Regions from separate parts of the Homo sapiens genome. Here region 1 is linked to region 2. Evidence: promoter capture Hi-C in 16 types of primary human blood cells and fetal thymus (Javierre and others, 2016). All regions are on one chromosome and are shown on one strand. Each heading gives the region's core, a stretch centred on a gene start or on the middle of the fragment in contact. The rest is flanking DNA. Distances are from core to core; before and after follow the strand shown.

Region 1 (2,733 bases), core at 175-2,674, 1.1 Mb after region 2:
CTTATTTCCTGTAGCATAGTGTCTTCAAGGTTCATCCGTGTTGTAGCATATATCAGAATTTCATTCCTTTTAAGGCTAAATAATACTCCATTGTGTGTATATGCCACGTTTTGTTGATTGATCCATTGATAGACACTTGGTTTGCTTTCACCTTTTGGCTGCTAGAAACATTGGTATACAAATACCTGTTTGCTTTCAGTTCTTTGGGTGTCTACCCAGAAGTAGAACTGCTGGATCATATGGTAATTCTGTGTCTAATCTTTTGAGAAATGGCCATACTGTTTTCCATCACAGCTGCACCATTTTATTTTCCTAAGCTCCTGAGTTCTTAGGATTTCCTCATTTTCTCCATTTCCTCACCCCCATTCTAATGTTTTAAGAAAGGATGTTCCATCCTTTTCTTCCATAATCTCAGAAAGTCTTGAAAGCTGAGATGGTCCTTAGAGCTCATCTAGTCCATCTTTATCCACTTTTCAAATGAGGAAACTGAGGCCTAGAGGTGGGAAGTGGCTCACCCGTGGTCACACAGCAAAAGCCAGGATCAGACTTCTCTGCCTCCCAGGCCAGTGCCCTTTGGTGATTTCACATTTTCACTAATCCATGACTCAATTGTCAAATGAATGCAGGTGCTGTGTGTGTCCTGGCTCATGATTCCTCCTGGGAGTGAAGCAGAGGATGCCTAGGACCCTCGGATTGGGGCAGGAAGGGAGGAAAACCAGACTGGAGCTTGACCCCTTTTCTCTCTGCACAGGACCAACCTCCCTACCACCTGAAAGCCTTCAACCTGCGCATCAGCTTCCCGCCGGAGTATCCGTTCAAGCCTCCCATGATCAAATTCACAACCAAGATCTACCACCCCAACGTGGACGAGAACGGACAGATTTGCCTGCCCATCATCAGCAGTGAGAACTGGAAGCCTTGCACCAAGACTTGCCAAGGTGGGGTTGGGCTTTGCTTGGAGGAGGGACTGATACTGGGTAGAGATTACTGGAGAGGGGGTTCACAGCTTATTCTGAGCTTGAAAAGCCCCAAAGAGAGGAGATAAAAATTGTGAGTCTTGGCTGAACTTACTATGAGATAGAAGGGATGCTTCCTGGACAGACTGACCTCCTCCTGCCTCTCTTCTTATACCTGTGCAGTTGTGACAGAGGAACGTTGCTGCGGTTCATGGGAGAGGCAGCTTGGCTGCACAGGGAAGGGCTCGGGAAAAGAAAGCCCGCTGTTCCCTCTGTGGACTTTGGGCAAGTTTTCGTTCCTTTCTGGGACTCGGTGTCCTAAATGACAGTGGAGGGAACTGGCCTCATAATGATAATACCTGTCACTTGACTGAGCACTTTCGGCACTGTGCTAAAAACATCACCTGCCGACTTCATTTTTATTTCCCCAACAAGCCCGTGAGGTAGTGTTGTTTAGTAGACCCGGACATCTGAGGCATGTGAGAGGTGAAGTGGTTGCCTAAGGTCATACAGATGACAAACGGCAGCACTTGGCTGACTCGCAAGCCACATGTGGCTGTTGCAACTGAAGAACTCAATTCTTTTTCTTTTTTAAGACAGAGTCTCGCTCTGTCGCCTAGGCTGGAGTGCAGTGGCGCGATCTTGGCTCACTGCAACCTCCACCTCCCAGGTTCAAGCGATTCTCCGGCCTCAGCTTCTTGAATAGCTGGAATTACAGGCGTATGACACCACACCCAGCTATTTTGTATTTTTAATAGAGAGGGGTTTTGCCATGTTAGCCAGGCTGGTCTCGAACTCCTGACCTCAGGCGATCCGCCTGCCTCCGCCTCCCAGAGTGCTGGGATTACAGGTGTGAGTCACTGCGCCTGGCCAGAACTCAATTCTTAATTGTACTTAATTTTAATCCTTTTTGTTTTTTCTACTGAGACACGGTCTGTCTCTATTGCCCAGGCAGTTAGTTCAGTGGCGCAATCTTGGCTCACTGCAACCTCCACCTCCTGGGCTCAAGCCATCCTCCCACCTCAGCCTCCCGAGTAACTGGGACTACAGGAGCATGCCACTATACCTGGCTAATTTTTGCATGCTTTGTAGATACCAGGTTTTGCCATATTGCCCAGGCTGGTCTCAAACTCGTGAGTTCAAGCCATCCACCCATCTTGGCCTCCCAAAGTGGTGGGATTACAGGCGTGAGCCACCGTGCCCAGCCTGATTTTAATTCATTTAAATTTAGATGCCTGCATGTGGCTAATGGCTACCATATTGAACAACACAGCTCTAGAGCCTGTGGCTGAATCAGTGTGCAATCCTCCACCTGGACCAGCTCAGGAGTTTTTAACTCAGGAAATGAAAGTCCTTAGGTTGGTGGGAGTGGGAGCAGGGAGAGGAGTGGTCCTTGGATGAGCTTCAGGGGGTCTGGGAACTGTCTGTTTTGCATGTGGATGTGCACATCTGTCTCGGGAGATGGGCTGCTGCCTTCACTAGGTTCCCAAAGGCATCTGTGAAAGATGAAGAGCCAGGGGGCAGTGGTGGTTTTCAGTCTTTAGCCTTAGACCTCTTTTGCCCAAGGAAAAGTTTATTTGGACTACCAATATAATGGAGGAAAACAGAGCAGTTTTTGTTGAAATGGGGATAAGACCCAGAAACCTCACTTATCTCAGTGGCCCCTGTGATGAGGAGCTTCTCTGAAGCCATGGAATGTAGTTGTTTGAAAACCACTGATGTAATCAGTCAAGGCCTTGGGTGTCACCAGCCAAGAATGAGCGGGGCGTTTGATCTG
Region 2 (2,700 bases), core at 105-2,604:
GGAAAACACCACATCTTCTGTCATCACCCCAGTGTCCTTAAATCACCCCTAAATTTCATACAAAATCTCACTCATCTCTCTGGCCAAGGATCCAAGTTGTAAAGTAAATAATATGTCTACAGTAGGAACTCTTAATTTGGGCTCTATGACTGGACTTTAGAAAGACCCAATACTGCCTGAAATTGACTACCTATGGATTTTTCTTAGAAGAATGTTCAGATTTTATTGAGTTCTAAAGGTTGAAAACTGATTTAGAAGAATTTTTCCTTCTCACTTCAAACTCTCTCATTAACTGGAATATTTTAATCATATTAAAGTATTTTTAAACATACTTGTAAAAGACACTGGCCACAACTAGGAAAACTTGGAATATAGCCATTGTAGAATTTCTCTAACTTCCCTCTCCCCATTGAGCACTCCCAAAGAGTCTGATTTCTGTCTGGTGAGGCTGTACAAAGATAAATCAGTTCTCAGCCTAAATTCAAAACTCTCCACAGGGGTTGGAGTATTTCCACAGCATATCTCAGGTGGAAATTGATGGGGATCCCCTTACTGTTAGAAGACAAATCTGGAACTCCAGAATTAGCTCAAGAATTTGACACTTCCACAAGTTTCCAATGAATCTTCTAGGAGATCCTTTTGATAGCTTACCTTTCTCTTTAGACACAATCTACTTTTGATGCAGAATACTAAAAGGTGGGTGGCTAATGCTATATAGGAGAAATTGGTAGGATTTACAAATTCCTCCCACGTTCATAGTACTCTTCCTATCCCATAAACCTTTCATTTACATAGCTAAAAAATTCAGAACAATGGCTATGAAGAACCCAGAGGGCCCATGGCTAATCTGTTCTAGTAGTATTCAGAATATATGCCAATAAATTTGGAATAGCCTCCAAGACATATAAACCAATCCTTTCTAGAACTCCATATATATTTTCTCATTCAAGTAACTTCATCTCCTAAACAGCCCAGAGGAAGAAAATAAAGTCACATGGGTTTCCTCAAGGGAAGGGCCCATGTCAAATAACCTATATGAATGACTATATGATTAGAGCTTTCACAATTGGTAATGGAGCTGATGCGTGATGGTAAGTTGCTGGATCAAAAAAGATGAAGGGAAAACAGATAACAGCAAAATAGGCAACTTACATAGGATTCCGTAAGAGCAGTCAGGTCTGAACGAATCTTCCTTGCTAGCCAGATAGAGCGGCTACAGAGGTCCCGACGGTGAGGGGTCAGCGGTGAATGCTCTGTGAAAGCCATCCCTTAACTCAACTGTCCCAGGAAACAAGTCAGCTGGGTTTACTTCTGTCTATACTGGTCCAAATAAGAGATGTGACTCTCAAAGACTAAACCCACTGGGCATTCTCTACTAATGGGATTGTGCACCCCACCCCCACGCCCTGCCTGACTCAGAGGAGGTAGCAAATTCCTGGCTGTGGATTTTTGTGCCTGTGGAATCAAAGGGCCCTTTTTAATCAGATTTTTTTTCCCCTGCAGCGTCTGCCTCCATCTCTCTCCTCCACTCAGTACTTAGCACACTTGTTTCTATGTCATTGTTTTGCTTTTGCACTTAGCAACAAGGTCACTATCATACCAATCCTCATGGCACCCCTGCCTAATGTAATCTATCTCACACACTTAGAATTAGTTCATTTTATTATCATTCTCCCTTATGCTTCCCATGTCTTTTTTCTCATAGGCTGGCGAAATGTTCATTCAATAAAATTGTTATTGACACAGCTGCCATTTATTAAGTATCTACCATGGGTCAGTCAGTAAGCTAAATACTTTAAAGCAATTCCATTTGATCTTCAGAATATTTCTGAGGTAAATGTTATTTCTCCATATAAGAAACTGAAACTTCAAGAAATAACATGCACAAAATCAAGTAACGAGGCTTGAATTTAAATAGAAGTCTGATTCTATAGTTGTCTCTCCCACTGACTTTCCAATTTCATTTTCTGTTTAGGTAGTTCACATCTTGTTCAAGAAACAAAGGGTGTGTGAAGTCCTTTAAAAACAGGATTTTTTTCACTCCTAACCTTACGTACTTTTTAAAGGTAATTTAATTTATACTTAAAAATCAAGCAAGGAAGCATCTCTAATTTCAATCACGGTGCCTTCCTGGTAGCTACATAGGAGGAGGAAGGTACTGTTTAGGCCTGTTCTCTTCCAAAGAACAGGAAACACCCAACGCTAACTTGGTAACATTTCTAAAGCAGTCTCACTCAAGTGACAACATGCTTTCCTTTTTTCTCCCCTACCCAGTCATACCACATGCTTCTTAAAATAAGAGAATGAGCTGGGCTTTGAAATGACAGTATAAAAGTTAAAAGGTACTTGGAGGGTTGTCATTCTATTGCATTTAACTTAGAAAATGATGCTTATTGGGTAAGGGCTAAATGAAATAATTAGCTTTCATTATTTATATCATAGATATTGCCAATAAGCTGAAACACATACCATCTTAGAAGCAAATTTATAAAAGTAAACAATAAATGGGAGATGTAACAGAGCAGCCTGGGCAGCTATCACAGCATGGCTTTTGGAAGGCAGAAGGATTATAGTTTTTTCTTTTTTAAAATAAAAATCAGTACTTGATATAAACATTCAATTTTGAGAAGAAGTATTAATATTAAATGCTATCAAGGTTTTGTCATTATCAGGGTAAAATTAACCTCACATAATCCTTAA

The links. Contacts are between HindIII fragments. The CHiCAGO score rates a contact against its expected background, and 5 or more counts as called.
Region 1: a fragment that was not itself captured here is called in contact with the fragment with the promoter of CNTF in region 2 in 1 of 17 cell types (naive CD8 T cells); the score reaches 5.3 in naive CD8 T cells.

What each region holds. Positions count from the first base shown.
Region 1 is chr11:57,552,642-57,555,374 of GRCh38, reverse strand. It overlaps UBE2L6 (ubiquitin conjugating enzyme E2 L6), which reads left to right. Exons shown (of 4, transcript NM_004223.5): 3 at 752-938. Among named protein-coding and RNA genes, the nearest start is that of UBE2L6, 14 kb to the left of the region's middle. The HindIII fragment of the contact is 6,800 bases long and covers 1-2,733 here.
Region 2 is chr11:58,621,319-58,624,018 of GRCh38, reverse strand. It overlaps CNTF (ciliary neurotrophic factor), which reads right to left and starts at 1,354. Exons shown (of 2, transcript NM_000614.4): 1 at 1,153-1,354. The coding sequence starts at 1,266. ZFP91 (ZFP91 zinc finger protein, atypical E3 ubiquitin ligase) reads right to left here. Exons shown (of 11, transcript NM_053023.5): 11 at 2,469-2,700. ZFP91-CNTF (ZFP91-CNTF readthrough (NMD candidate)) reads right to left here. Exons shown (of 13, transcript NR_024091.1): 12 at 1,153-1,253. The HindIII fragment of the contact is 9,454 bases long and covers 1-2,700 here.